2 separate regions of the Homo sapiens genome follow, and region 2 is linked to region 1. Evidence: promoter capture Hi-C in 16 types of primary human blood cells and fetal thymus (Javierre and others, 2016). All regions are on one chromosome and are shown on one strand. The core of a region is centred on a gene start or on the middle of the fragment in contact, and the rest is flanking DNA. Distances in the headings are between cores, read along the strand shown. Region 1 holds the start of LINC02295 (long intergenic non-protein coding RNA 2295). Region 2 has its middle 210 kb from the start of LINC02914.

Evidence for each region. Contacts are between HindIII fragments. The CHiCAGO score rates a contact against its expected background, and 5 or more counts as called.
Region 2: a fragment that was not itself captured here is called in contact with the fragment with the promoter of LINC02295 in region 1 in 1 of 17 cell types (fetal thymus); the score reaches 5.2 in fetal thymus.

Annotation. Positions count from the first base shown.
Region 1 is chr14:98,131,139-98,138,465 of GRCh38, forward strand. It overlaps LINC02295 (long intergenic non-protein coding RNA 2295), which reads left to right and starts at 4,849. Exons shown (of 3, transcript NR_184268.1): 1 at 4,849-5,059. All of the region lies in intron 1 of LOC105370655 (a long non-coding RNA gene), which reads right to left. The HindIII fragment of the contact is 6,410 bases long and covers 144-6,553 here.
Region 2 is chr14:98,917,168-98,924,155 of GRCh38, forward strand. No RefSeq gene overlaps it. Among named protein-coding and RNA genes, the nearest start is that of LINC02914, 210 kb to the left of the region's middle. The HindIII fragment of the contact is 1,485 bases long and covers 515-1,999 here.

The sequences.
Region 1 (7,327 bases), core at 3,599-6,098:
CGATAAGAATAAATAAGGAAGAGTCACCTCCCGATGACCACACAGCCAAGTTATAAAGGGGCTCCCATCACTTACACGTGTGCAGAGCAAACCTGCCCATGCCCCACCTTCAATCAAAAAGTCTTTTCTGTTGCACAAGCCCAAGCTTCCAAAACTCTCTCTCCTTGTCCATCATTGCTTCCTTCATCCTGTTCTCATTCTCTGATCATTTTTATCCCTACCTGTCCAAGACATGGTGGAGAGCAGACTCAAGGCCTGACCAAGTCAAACTCAGGATCTTGAATATATAACTTGCCCATGATCCCATATTCTGAACTATCCCTGGACATAGCTTCATCTTCACTTTGAGTCAAAATCATCTTTCCTGCTTGCCAGATCTGGTTCCTCCCCTACATATACACACAAAGTAAGCCTCCTCTTTTCAATATAGTTGTCATTTCCAGAGTCACTGTCAGGCATGAGCGTGTTGACCACACAAGCAACACTCAAACCACAGGAAGCAGGACTTGGAACTAGAGGCCAGAGTGAAAGAGTTCAGATATGGAAGGAGTCCAATCAGATAGAGCTCAGGACTCACATCATGTAGCTTTTCTGGAAAGAGGGCTGAAAACAGAGGATAAGTCCTGGGATTTGGTGCTCAATGTCATGTTCCTGGGGAATGGCATACCTCAGAGCCAAGGGTGCTTATTTGCACAGCTGCACACTGAGGCTACAGAAATGCTCAGTGGCTGTGTGGCTGGAAGGGGCTGCTGTAATGTGTGTGCATGGGGAGAGAGGGGCAACCCTGAAGGCAGAATGGGTTTGGCTGCTCAGGTCCTGTGACTGTGGTTGCTAGGAGGCTCAGGCTCAGTTTTGAAAGGAGCCTCTGAACTCTTGGAAAAGCTCCTTCCAAATCAGAAATGATGAGAAGCTGAACACAACCTTCGGCTCAAGTTCACCAGTGGAGAGGTCAGGAGTAAGTAGTGCATGAGCCAGGGGTTATCAAATTGAACTTTATGCTCTTAAAGATAAATACCATATCCAAATGCTGTGTCTTCTTTGCTAAAAATTACCAGCCAGCCTGGCTATTTATGAACTTTATTCAGAAGTATTTATTGAGCACCTACCGTGTACCAGGCACTACATTATACATTATGGATACTCACACAAAGTCCTAGTTCCTGCCTGTTGTGGTTAATTTTATGCGTCAGCTTGACTGGATTGCAGACTAATTAGATATTTGATCGCACATTATTCTGAGTGTTTTTATGAGGCTGTTTTGGAATGAGATTAACATTTAAATTGGTGGGCTTTGGATAAAGCATACTGCCCTTCTGAATTTGAGTGGGCCTTAACCAATCAGTTGAAGGCCTGAATAGAATAAAAAGGCTGACCTTGTCCTACGTTATGGGGAACGTCTGCTACCTGACTGCCTTGAGCTGGAACATAGGGTTTTTTTTTTCCTGTGTCAAATCTCTTTCTGGGCTGAGAGTCTGCTGGCCTTCAGACAGAAACTTATACTATAGACTCTCTCGATGCTCAGACTTGGACTGGAACTAAATCACTGGGTCTCCTGGCTCTTGAGCTTGCCAACCACAGACCTAGCCACGTGAATGATAGGCATCCATTTTCTCCCTACCTTTCTGTACTGCCTTTCACGATGCTGGCTTCACCCTCTATGCAATATTCTGGATGTTCTGGATTCTTCCTCATTGATTAAAAAAAAAATGGCTGTAGCTGTTGCAGACTTTACACCCTTACAAACTACTATCCAGAGAAAAAGAAAGAGTGCCGAGAGATCCTATGAAGAAAAATAAGGCTTCCCTTTCTCAGAATCTCCAATAAATACTTCATATTTCCTTGTCTCTGATTGGGTTGTGTACTCATCCTTGAACCAATCACAGTGGCCAAAGGGATGGGTACAATAATCGGTAAAGCCAATGAGAGTCCACTCCTGAAACTAGACCCAGGGGTTAATTTTGCTATTAATTACATCTGAGAACAAGAGGGAGTGGTTCCCCCTTAACAATGCTAAGTACTGTTTCCTGAAGATGATTGGATGGAAGAAAGAGAACAAGTACCATACAAATTCACTCCACTGACCTCCTGAGTTAAGCCCTTACATGTGCTGTTCCTCTCACCTCTGCCAATTCCCCTACTGTCATTTCTCATCTCAGACTAGTCCTTCTATCCCCAGTGACTGGTTGACATTTCTGGGGAGCTCTCCTGACCACTCCCTTCCTAGACCAGATTAAGTGGCCCTGTTTTGCCTCCTCCGACACTCCCCTAACAAGCACCTGCTGCTCTCCTGGCACTTCTATCAGTGTCTGAGTCACTTGTTTACTTGTTGCCCAAACCCACTGGACTATAAATTTTTTTCACAGTATTGCCAAGAGAAAACACATAGCTTCAGGTGCTAGGAGCTGTGCTCAAAACTATTTGAAAGGTGAATGCAGGAATGGATGGATGAGTGAATGAATGAGGTGGGTGAATAATGAAATGAATGAATGAAGTGACTTAGACTTTAATCTTAACCAACTGAAAGAAAGAAAGGTCTCATTATCAGCACTCCAGGAAAGCCAGGAGAGATCTTGTTTTCCTAGATACTGGTCAAATTTGATAGAGAATATTGTTTTGAAATATGAAATGCTGAAACCAGGGAAGAACCTGATTTAACATCGTAAGAAGAATCAGACGTACAAAAATAGCAAGTGAATGCAGTTAATTACGATTTAAATATTGATCATAAAGGACTCTTTCAGCCTGAATTAACATAGTGAATTTCAAATCAAAGACCCTGTATAATCAGATAAAGATTGACCATTGACCCTGGCATTGTGCCAGATGACTAAGTCAGGTCTCATCCTTTCTTGGGAAACCTCCCCTTGGTGTTGACATTCCAGGGAGAGGCATGGGTCCAGCACTGCACCCAAATATTGAGTCTGCATGGATGTAATCAGAGATGGGGCACCGGACTGTCTTTGAAAGGGATTTCCTTCAAACCATGAAACTGATCATTAATCACTTTTGCGTAGCTTGCTGTGTTGTTGCAATGATGGGGAAATTCAAGTAAAAAACAAAATTCACCTGACAATAAAATATAAATCTGTGTCAATATCACAGTATATGTGGCAAAAAGCAGCCCAACCATGGTCTCAACTCAAGATAATCAGGACAGAAAGTCTATATAGCACTTGGAATCTCACAGGAGTCTTGGCTTTCCTGTTGTCTTTACTGTACTTTGCTTTAACCAACCTGGAAGGACAACATCACCACACCTGTCTTGCAGAAGAGAAAACTGAGGCCCAGAAGGCTAATGGGATTTGTGCACAGCTACTAACAATTGTCCACCTAATGATTTGAATTCAGATAGCTTCTTTAATGCTCTTCAACACAACTTCCTCACTCTAAGTCAAATGTGAGCAGCATTAAAAGAAAATAAAAGTACAGTATTGTACAGAAAGCAACATACGTCATTCATGGCTGTGTGTGTCCATAAATATGTGTGTGTATATATATATGCATGTATATATGTATCTATATGTATGATAAAAAATAAAAATAACAACTACAACAACAAAAAAACAGAACATGGAAGTAAAAAAAGAGAGTGATTTTCCAGCAGGTTCCTGCAGAGCCCTTCTCTTGATTCCTGAGAGGTTCAATTAACGGATGCAAGTCATAAAACAGTGCATTTTCTCTCTGCTATGATGCATTGTTTTTAATCTCACTGCCTTGTATTATATCACATTCCTATAATTCTTCCGACAGGAAAAGGCTTGTTTCATAAAAATATAGTCCCCAGCATTTGAAATATAAGTTCACATGCAAGCAACATATATATCACCAAGCTGGCAAACTAACTCACTTACTTAATCCACTAAACTTCAGGTGCTTTCTATATTATGTGAAATGGCTTGAAACAGGCAGAAGCTGCCAGGACCCATCACGGCTTCTTTGCTCAAGAGAGACAAGAGGAGAAGGGGAGAAGGGAGCGGGGGGAGTGGAAATTCCCTCAGTGGATTCCACAATAACATGCCTTTCATTATCACCCAGTGTCAGGACACTGGGTAATGTTCATTGTGCATGCACAATAAATTACTATTTACCTGGCAGTGCTTTTGATAAGCTCGTCTCCTCACCCCCTTTCTGTCCATGCAGCACAGAGCAGCGAAACCCCTTTGCCTATAATTCTTATTAAGGTGATACCTTTTCTGAATAAGAAAGTACACACTTCCAAAGCTGGCACTCTCTGGGGTTTTTAAGGGACATTGTTTTTATTGGTTCCCTTTTATTTCTTCCACCCCACTGTGTTTTAATGCTATAGTGACTTCTGTGTATACAACTCTCATATTGAAATGTCGGCTGCAGATATATGCAATATTAAAGAGCGCTTATGAATTTTTGACATCTAATTAGTCGCTACCCTGTTAACATGTCAGGACTCAGAGGGATTAGGGAGGCAGCCCTTTCTGAATAAGTTACAGTGAGGCTCCTGTCCTTTTCATGTATTATTCTTTAATGTAGGTGGTGATTATTTGGCTGTGATTAATTGATGAAGCCCATTGGTCTGGCAAGTGGTGCCGAATTCACCATTCCTCACTTTTATTTCTCTCAGTAGGGTTCTGCCACTTAATCGGAAGGACCTGCTTCCTTCCAGGCAATCTCTCTGTGCAGCGTTCTGGGGCAGAGGGACTGTTCTGGGTGACCCACCTAGACCCTTTCACAGCTCTTGGCTCCCTGGTCAGCAGTGGGTTTTGCATCCTGTCTTCTTGGACAAGCCCTGTGCCCTGTGCCCCCTGGCCAGGCATGTCTGAAATGCAGTGGCACCCCCTATACAAAGGCTTCCTGTTGCTCCCCTTTTCTCTCATATCTGATTTTCGAGCCTTGCTTTCTGGTACCTTTAACACCTGTAGCTCCCTGCCTGGCTCAGTTTACTTCTGGGTTCAGCTGCCTGCCAAGACGCCAGGTGACAATCGGGGCTCTCCAAGGCCGCTCCTGCCATTGTCTCCAGCTGTGGGGCCCAAGAAACCACACACGTGAGATGCACAGTCTGATATGGCCGGCTCTGCCCCTCTGGGTAAGTGATACCAAGCTCTAAAAAAAGGCAACAATGAGAAGCGGATGTTGGGGAGAGGGGACCTGCTGGCTGCTGCTTTTGGGCACTGCCCCATGGGTGTCAAACACCCTGCTGTGTGCAGGCAGCTTCCGCCTCCTAGGAACTCTATGCCCACACAGTCCTCCCAGAAGCTCCTGTCCCAGCTCCCTGGGCTCCCACGGAGGAATCCTCTTTCACAGTGGGTTCTTAGGAATGTCAGATCTGATAGTCTTGGATTTGAAGCTGGGCAAGATTTTTAACATTTTAGATAAAGCAAGCAGGGAAATGATTTGTGAGTATAGCTCTGTGTTTAAGCACAGGGAGAGGGAGGTGTTTTCTGCTTCACCGCATGACTCCCCTTCCATACACCCACATGTGCATGCAGGCACACACATGTATACACACAGGTGCATGCATCCATACACACAGACCCACACATGTACACATACAGGCCCACACACACCCATAGATAGACACACACACTCCCAGGTACACATGCAGGTGCACACACCCATGCACACACAGGCATACACAGGTACACACACAGACACACACTCTCTCTCCCACAGCTTTCTAGACAAAGGCTCTGCCATCAGACTTTCGTACCCTGGCCTCCTGGTTTTATGAACAAATAATTCCTTTTTTTGCAAAGCAGAATTCCCCGCCCCCATTATAAACTCCCACCATTCAAATCTATAATTGGGGGAGTAACAGAGCTGTGGCCGACTTATCTTTTTAAATGCACCGACCCTGGACGAGCCATCCTAAAAATGTGTAATTATAAATAAACCTTCACCTATGTCAGCTGGCAGGGTTTTTAATTACTGCACTTGATGTCAATCAAGGCCAGCTCTGGGTATGCATGTTAGGGGGCAATTTCAGAGGAATTTTGCGGACATAAGCTGTTTGCCTTATTCTATTATCTGCATTTAAAAGGGGAGAGGAGGAGATAAGGCGACAGCCAGGAGGGGAGAGAGAAAGAGCAGCTCATGGAAAGAAAATGGTGGGGGAGGCATTTTACCGAGGCTGCAGCATCCTGCTGGGGCTGGGGAGGGCAGATACTGGACATCTCTCCTAACCCAGGGCCCCACACTGCTGGCCCCCTCTTTGTCTCCCAACCCTTTCTTGCAGGAAGATAAGGAGGGAGATGGGAGTGAGGTGTATATTTGCTGATGGAAGGGGGTGGAGGGGGCCCCTGCTAATCATGTGGGGACAAGGCGGGGATGAGGGTGGGGGTAGGATGAGGGTGGGGGTAGGATGAGGCAGGGAAGGAGAAGATCAGGAAGAGCAAGAAGTGTTGGGGGGAAGCGCTAAAAGGAAAAAAAATCAATTGATGCATATTCACTTTCTCCTCCACTGCGGATTCTATCCGAAGGAAACACTGAACTTTGTAGTGTTAGCAGCAGCTGAAATTTAGAATTATTGTTTCCTTCTAACAGAAGACTCATTTTCCACGGCCGCATTTGCAGCATAATAAGCTTTTTGTTATTTTTTCAATTAGAGTCAATTGACCTAACAAAATGCTTGGCAATTAAGTGATTTTTGTAATGGTCCGGGGGTAATTTAGTCGAGCTTGTCAGCTGTGTTTCATGAAGCCAGGCTGTCTTTTTTTTTTCCCCACTGCCTCTCTCTCTCTCCCTCTCTCTCCCTCTCTCTCTCTCTCTCTCTCTCTCCTCTCTCTCGAGCATAATGGCTCATAATTTCGAAATCTTTTCCTTCTGTTTCCCTCACAATAATTCGCAATTACAGGAAGTTGTTGGAGGTGATTTTTTTTTCTACCTTGCCTTTTGAGTCAGTAATTTTAAATAAAATGTACATACTTATAAAAAGGCAGCTATTACTGAAATCACTTTTTGTGTAAACTCAATTATTTCATGAATAGTGACACCAGCTTATACTGGGTCCCACTCCTGAAGGCTGAGGCATTATTATCTTCAGGGTAAAAGGTTTGGAACATTCAGAACACTCTTTCCAAATCAAACCAGCATTCAATAAGGTAAACACGACTTCAGGAGAGCAGGAGGCGGCTGGGTTACCTGGCCATGAAAAATGGCAACCTCCGGGCAGCCCTCATCTCTGTTTCCTCCCCTGGGCAAGGACTGGACTTTGGCTTCTCATCCTCTGATTTATGAGGAAATTCCTCATTTGCCTAATTGATTCATTTTCTTAAGACGACATCTGGAGTTACATTTTCTTTTAAAAGGCTGCAGTTAGAGCTGATGACTAGCTCAGATGTTCCTTCATTGTGTT
Region 2 (6,988 bases), core at 7-2,506, 780 kb after region 1:
GTCCAGAATGGCCAGTAAAACTGTGGAAATGGATTTCTGGCTGCATTTGATGTTAAACCTTTAGTGTCAAGCGCCAGGTCTACCGGTTGCCTTCCCCCCACCCTTCTTTTCTTTCTTCCTTTTGCTCCCCTTGTCTTCCCCCCTTCTCTGGATGGCCTTGTGGGGAATTTGTCTTTTCATAAATAATTTCTTAGAGTTGGCAGTTAGACAGTTGCATCCCATTTCTGCTTTGACGTGAGAAGAGCAAATTAAGTCTTAAAAGGATGGAGACTCACTCTTGTGTCTGTAATAGAATTGGTCTCATATAGATTGATTAAGACCCAGACTTCTCTGGCTTCAGTGTTAAATCCTCTGTTTATTAAGGCAACTCCATGCATGGAGTCTGTCTTTTCCCATTAAGTCATCATAATCCTGCATTCCATCCCTTTCTACCTAAAGGAAGAGTTGGAGAAAAAGTTCAGTCTGGGGCCTCCTCCCTAATCATCTGTGGCCAGATATACCCAACAAGGAGTCAAGCTTTCATCTTCAGGCTTTAGCCTCACCCTTGACTGAGAGAAGAAGATACAGCCATCCAAAGTGACGTCCTCGCCACCCTGCTGAACTGTGCTCAGGCTGAGGAAGAGGATGGAAAACAGAGCTTTGAACACCCAGCCCATCATCAGCTTGCAAAATCGCAGTGAAACTAGTGTGTAGCCCTCCCCACCCCGGCTATATCCCTGAGTGGGATCAAGCTAATCGGCCCCACTCACACTGTGGTTCATGGTTTGTGATAAGAGGAGAGGAGCTATGAAGAGAACAGGAAGCAAGATATGGAATCCAAAAAACCCAGTTTCCAGTCCTGATGCTGCCCCTGATGGACTGATTTTGGGCTGCTGACTTCTCCCTGGGCTCAGACTTACAGCTGTGAAACGAGACCCCCTATCACAAGTTCCAAAGCAGCTGGGACCCTCCAAATCCGTCATATGAAGAAGAGTTCATGTCCCTGCAAGAACACCACAGCCATTAACCTCATTCATGCTTCATAAGAAGTTAGCTGAGTGTCGTGGCGTGCACCTATAATCCCAGCTATTCAGGAGGCTGAGGCAGGAGAATCACTTGAACCCCGGAGGCAGAGGTTGCAGTGAGCTGAGATTGAGCCCCTGCACTCCAGCCTGGGTGACAGAGTGAGACTATGTCTCAAAAAAAAAAAAAAAAGTTAAGCAGAGCAAGTACTATTTTCTTCCACTCTCAGAGTGGGGAAATTGAGGCATAGAGCACCTGGCAGTAGTGATAGAGCCATTCAAGGGAAGAGTGCCATTTCCTGTAATAAAGCCACCTAGGTTGGCTGGAAATCACACACACACACACACAAAAAAAACTCAGGGTAAACTGTACCAAACAGCTTCTTAAACAGGTAGAACAGCTGGCAAGATAGCAAGAAGTCCTGAAGTCCAAATCTAACTGGGGTTAGAGAAGGAAGCGGAGTTGCAAAGCCCTGAGGACATCTGATAACCATATAGGGACCTTGACCTTGCATTTTCAGAGCCTCCAAGGGTACCGAGACATACGACAAAGCCTAGAGCCCATTCAGGTGGAGTGAGGATAGGAAGGGAGGTGAAGGGAGAGTGTCCAAGAGAAGATCCTCCTTATAAAAAGCCAGATTCTCAAAGGGCACAAGGGCAAGCTCAATGGACACACACACACACACACACACACACACACACACACGGAATATAGCCCGAGTGCAAAGCAGAAATGTCCTTAGAATGTCAGTTGGGGGCCCACAACACAGCGCCCCTCCCTCTCTGGCCTCCCCCTGAACTGCTCCCACACACTCCCCAGCTCTTACCATCCCCTCCTTCCCTGCCTCCCGTAGGCTGCAGTCTCAGGCTAAAGCTGCTGCTGGACACCCTCCACAAATACATCCCTCCTCAACCACAGCCCCAGCTTCATCCACATTGGCCAATCCCCATATCGATTATATCTCTTCAAAATCAGAACCCTGGAAAAAATCAAATCAAGCTTTGTCTGCTCAGGTGTTAGGATTTCTCTCCTAATAATAACAACAAATTCAATGAAAATCATAGACACGTCTTCTAGAAACAGCTTCTCTTATATTTTCATGGACCCAAACCATGTCTGAGAGATGGGACGGGGCACAGATGCCAGTAGAAAGGGGACATCATCTGGGGACACCACCCCTGGCCCCAACTCCACTTCTGGCTGATGCTGGCCTGGTGATGGTCCTAGTCCATTTCAGGGCTATGCCCAACATCAGATTCTCTGCAGCCCCACCTTTTTTCCTAAAGACAGAACCTGCTAAGGAAGGAAGGATGAGCTGCTCCAAACCCCTGGGTGTCACCTTGACCTCATCCAGGCCCTGAGCAACAGGACCAGGCCAGAGACCACAAAGTGCACCAGCAGGGGTAGTGCCCTACGAGGTCCCAGCAGGTCCCCACCTTGGCCACACCACACCACAGCCAGTGTGAAGGGCTGGCCCAATCCTTGGTGCTTTTTTGCATGCAATAGCTTCTTTGCTTCTCATGGCAACCCTGCGGAGTGGGGAGGGGCAGGACAGCCCTTACTCTGTGCATTTACAGATGAGGACAAAAGGCTGGCAGGCAAGACACCCAGCAGAGGCACAAGAGGACTGGGGAGAGGGGAAATGAGGATCTGAGAAGGTGCTTGCCGTTTACAAACAGCCTCCCTCAGATGAACTCAGAGAAAAGCAAGGAACAAGGCAACAGTTTCTAAGTTGACTTTTGCCATTGGAGCTGTGTTTCCTGTCCTTAAGCCCCCGGTGTCTGGACCACATGGTCACATCTTCAATAAAGTGAATTGAGTTTGGTTTATACAGCAGAAGAAGACCATCACCTTCTTGTCACTGGATTGATGGTGCTGAAATGGAGGAAGTAAAAGGGTTGGAGATGGGCCGGGTGCAGTGGCTCACACCTGTAATCCCAACAGTTTGGAAGGCCGAGGGGGGCAGATCACTTGAGGTCAGGAGTTAGAGACCAGCCTGGCCAACATGGCGAAACCCCATCTTTACTAAAAACACAAAAATTAGCTGGGCAAGGTGGCGCATGCCTGTAGTCACAACTACATGGGAGGCTGAGGCAGGAGAATCGCTTGAACCCCGGAGGCGGAGGTTGTAGTGAGCCTAGATCACGCCACTGCACTCCAGCCTGGGTGACAGCGAGACTCCGTCTCAATCAATCAATCAATATAAAATAAAATAAAATAAAAGGGTTGAAAAGGAAGGCAGGGAGAAGTACTGCATGCTTTGCCAGAACTAAAAATTAGTCCTGAAATTTTTGAAACCTCATTTAGGATTGGAAAGGGTGTCTAATTTCAAAGCTTCCAATTGATCTGTTTTTAACATATACATGAAGATGTGAATTTATCATTGGAGAAAGAGAATACTCTTGTTTTTGTGAAAAAACAACACATAACAGGTTCTTTTGGAGCTAAAGCAGAGGCCTGCAGCTGATACAGCTATATCTGTGGAACACACCATTCTATATCCAAGTCAGGATGTATTTGTTGAGACCTACTGTGTACCAGACACTGTTCTAGGCTCTGGAAAATGGCAGTGAATAAAACAGATAACAATTCTCACCCTCATAGAGAAGACAGATAAAAATAAGTTAGCTGACTTTAGGGCACATATCAAGATGTTAAATGCTTTGAAAGAGAACAAAACAAGGAGCAGGGTAGGGAATGCTAGAAGGGCTGCGAATTTAAATACAGCAATCAGGGAAACGCTGTTCTAAAAGGACAGAGAGTAAAGAAATGAACTATCAAGCCGTGAAAAAACATGGAGGAACCTTTCATGCATAGCACTAAGCAAAAGAAGCCAGTCTGAAAAGACTACATACTGTATAATTCCAACTCTATGACACACGGGAAAAGGCAAAACTTTGGAGACAGTAAAAAAAGATCGGTGGTTGGCAGGGGTCGGGAGAGACAGAGATGAATAGACAGAGCCCGGAAGACTTCCAGGGCAGTGAAAATACTCTACATGGTCATAAAATGGTGGATCCCTGTCAACGGAGTTCTTCATCGGCCCATCCCCACTATATTAGTCCATCCTCATGCTGCTATAAGGACATACCCAAGACTGGGTAATTTGTAAAGGAAAGAGGTTTAATTGACTCACAGTTCCACATGGCTGGGGAGGCCTCAGGAAACTTACAATCATGGCAGAAGGGGAAGCAAACACATCCTTCTTCATATGGCAGCAGCAAGGAGAAGTGCCTAGCAAAAGGGGGAAAGCCCCTTATAAACCATCAGATCTCATGAGAACTCACTCACTGTCATGAGAGCAGCAGCATGGGAGTAACCACCCCCATGATTCAATTACCTCCCACCGGGTCCCTCCCACGACCCATGGGGATTATGGGAACCACAATTCAAGATGAGAATTGGATGCGGACACAGCCAAACCATATCACCCACATGGACATAGAAAAAAAGGGACCAAATGCCTAGCCCTATCTTTTTAAGTGGATAATTTTTCTTTAAAGACATTAAGTGGAAAGAAGTAGGATTGCTGGTGTGGGCACCAGTGCCTAGATCCAAGTGCATGAGGATGCCCCAGGTCCACATCTTTCTTCATACAACTCCCTGACCCCAGAGGGGAACCTGCTCATCAGCCAGCTCTGCCCAGATACACAGAGCTCCCTGTTAGTTATCTAGAATCTCACCTTTTTAGTTAGGTGGTTAGTCAAGGCTCTCCAGACATCTTAGGGAAGTCTGAAAATAGAAGAGAAGCCAAAAGAAACAAACTGAAAAACCGATTTTAGAGAAAACAAAGATAATTCAGAGAAAATAAGCTTGTATCCTCTGAGATATGTAAAGAGATATTGCACCTATAAGGTAAGAACAAGATGCTATGTAAAAGGAACAATCATTTAACAAGAAAATGTTCTGGAAATTAAATATATGATTGTCAAAAGGGAAGAAAATTCAATGAAAGGCTTGGAAGCTAACATAAAGAAAATCTAGAGAGCAGAATAAAAATGTTATGAGATGGAAATATGAGAAAAAAAGAGAAGAGGCAAAGAAGCATGATTTAAGAGGTTCTGCATCCAACAAATAAATCTAGAAAGAGAAAACAGGTTAAAATGGAGAGAAAAGTGCCGTCTTAAAAAAATTATAATACAAAAGAAGGTGCCAAAGGTAGAAGACAAAAGTCTTCAGAAATACTGGGCCATTGAGTGGCCAGTACACAAATGTTTAAACAGATCCATAAGTAAGCATATCATTATACAATTTTAGAACACCAACAATAAAGAGATAAATGCTCAATCATCTAGGGATCATCTTCAAAGGAAAGGGAATAAAACCAAGGTCAGACGTGTCATTAGCACCTCTGGGTTTGGCACAATGGTGGAATTCCCTCCAAAGTTCTAAGGGTAAATAAGCAACAACTTGGAATTCTATATCCTGCTAAACTGTCACTGAAGGGCAAGAGTAGAATAATGTGTGAGAGATGAAGAAAGACATAATCAGACATACAAAGATTTATAGGAAACTTTATAGAGGCTATGCTTGTGTAATATAGTGAGTAAATAAGCAAGAAAGATGAATAAGATATAGTATTCAACTCAGGACATAGAATGACAGCTCTACAGCACCCAGAGTAATTGGACGAGACTAGAGCAGAAGAATGGAGGATTCCAGGGGTTGGGAAGAATCTGTGAAAAAGAGGTAGAATTCTATGGGTTTGAATTTATTTTTGAGAATTGGGGATACCTCAAGTAGGTGATGAATACAATTAGAAACTAAAAGAAGAAAAAGAAATGTACAGTATTTTTGGGGGTGGGAGATGGAGTTTGACTCTTGTCGCCCAGGCTGAAGTGCAGTGGCTCCATCTCAGCTCACTGCAACCTCTACCTCCTGGGTTCAAGCGATTCTCCTGCCTTAGCCTTCTGAGTAGCTGGGATTACAGGCACCCACCACCACACCAGCTAATTTTTGTATTTTTAGTAGAGATGGGGTTTCACCATGTTGGCCAGGCTGGTCTTGAACTCCGACCTCAGGTGATCCACCAGCCTCAGCCTTTCAAAGTGCTGGGATTACAGGTGTGAGCCGCCGTGCCTGGCTGAAATGAGCGGTAATTATAGTAGTAATCACAGTATATACTACTTGGCTGAAAATGAAATATTTACAGAATACAGTAAACATAATTTGTTTTCTGAACTTCTAGAATGCCTATATATAGACAAAGTGTTGTAGACTTAAGTTTATAAAATAAAAAATACATGTTATCAATCTTAGCAATATAAAAGCAAAAGTACAGTTGTTAGAAATGAGAAGTAGCAAGGAAAGAAGAGGTGATGAGAGATTTGCAGTGTTCCTATGTCCATTTTGTAAACAGTGAGTCAAATGTTATTGTATACAGTTGAATTAATATGTATTCATATATAATTTACATTTACAAATACAAATAATAAGGGAACTAAACTATTGTGAGGGGTGTGTGTGTATAAAATGAGTTGTAGGGAAAAAGACAAAGATGAAGGTGATGGTTCAAAAGAACAAATTCTTCATCTGTTACAAGAGGAGGCCAGCAGATGATGTCTAAAGCTGATTGTTCAAAAGAAAATGATTAATGTGTATATACACATGAAGTGAATCACCAGGATAAACAAAAACAAACAAGCAAAACTGGTTAACAGAATTAAAAGTGGCTTACTCAGGAGAAAAGGACTAGCATGAAGGGGTGCTGTGATGAAACTATTATTTTTTATTATTAGGTTGGTGGAAAAGTAACTGCCATAACTTTTAATGGCAAAAACCACGAGTACTTTTGCACCAACCTAATAGCAATATATCTCTATGATACGATTTTTTAATCACATGCAGGTATTTGATCAATATTTTTAGATAGCATTTTTAAGGCTGACTTCATGTTGCAGCCACGGTGTATGGTGGACACACCTGCTTGTGTGTTCAGAGTTCCAAGCTAATGAGTCCAGGCGTGGACAATCTGGAAATTCATTCC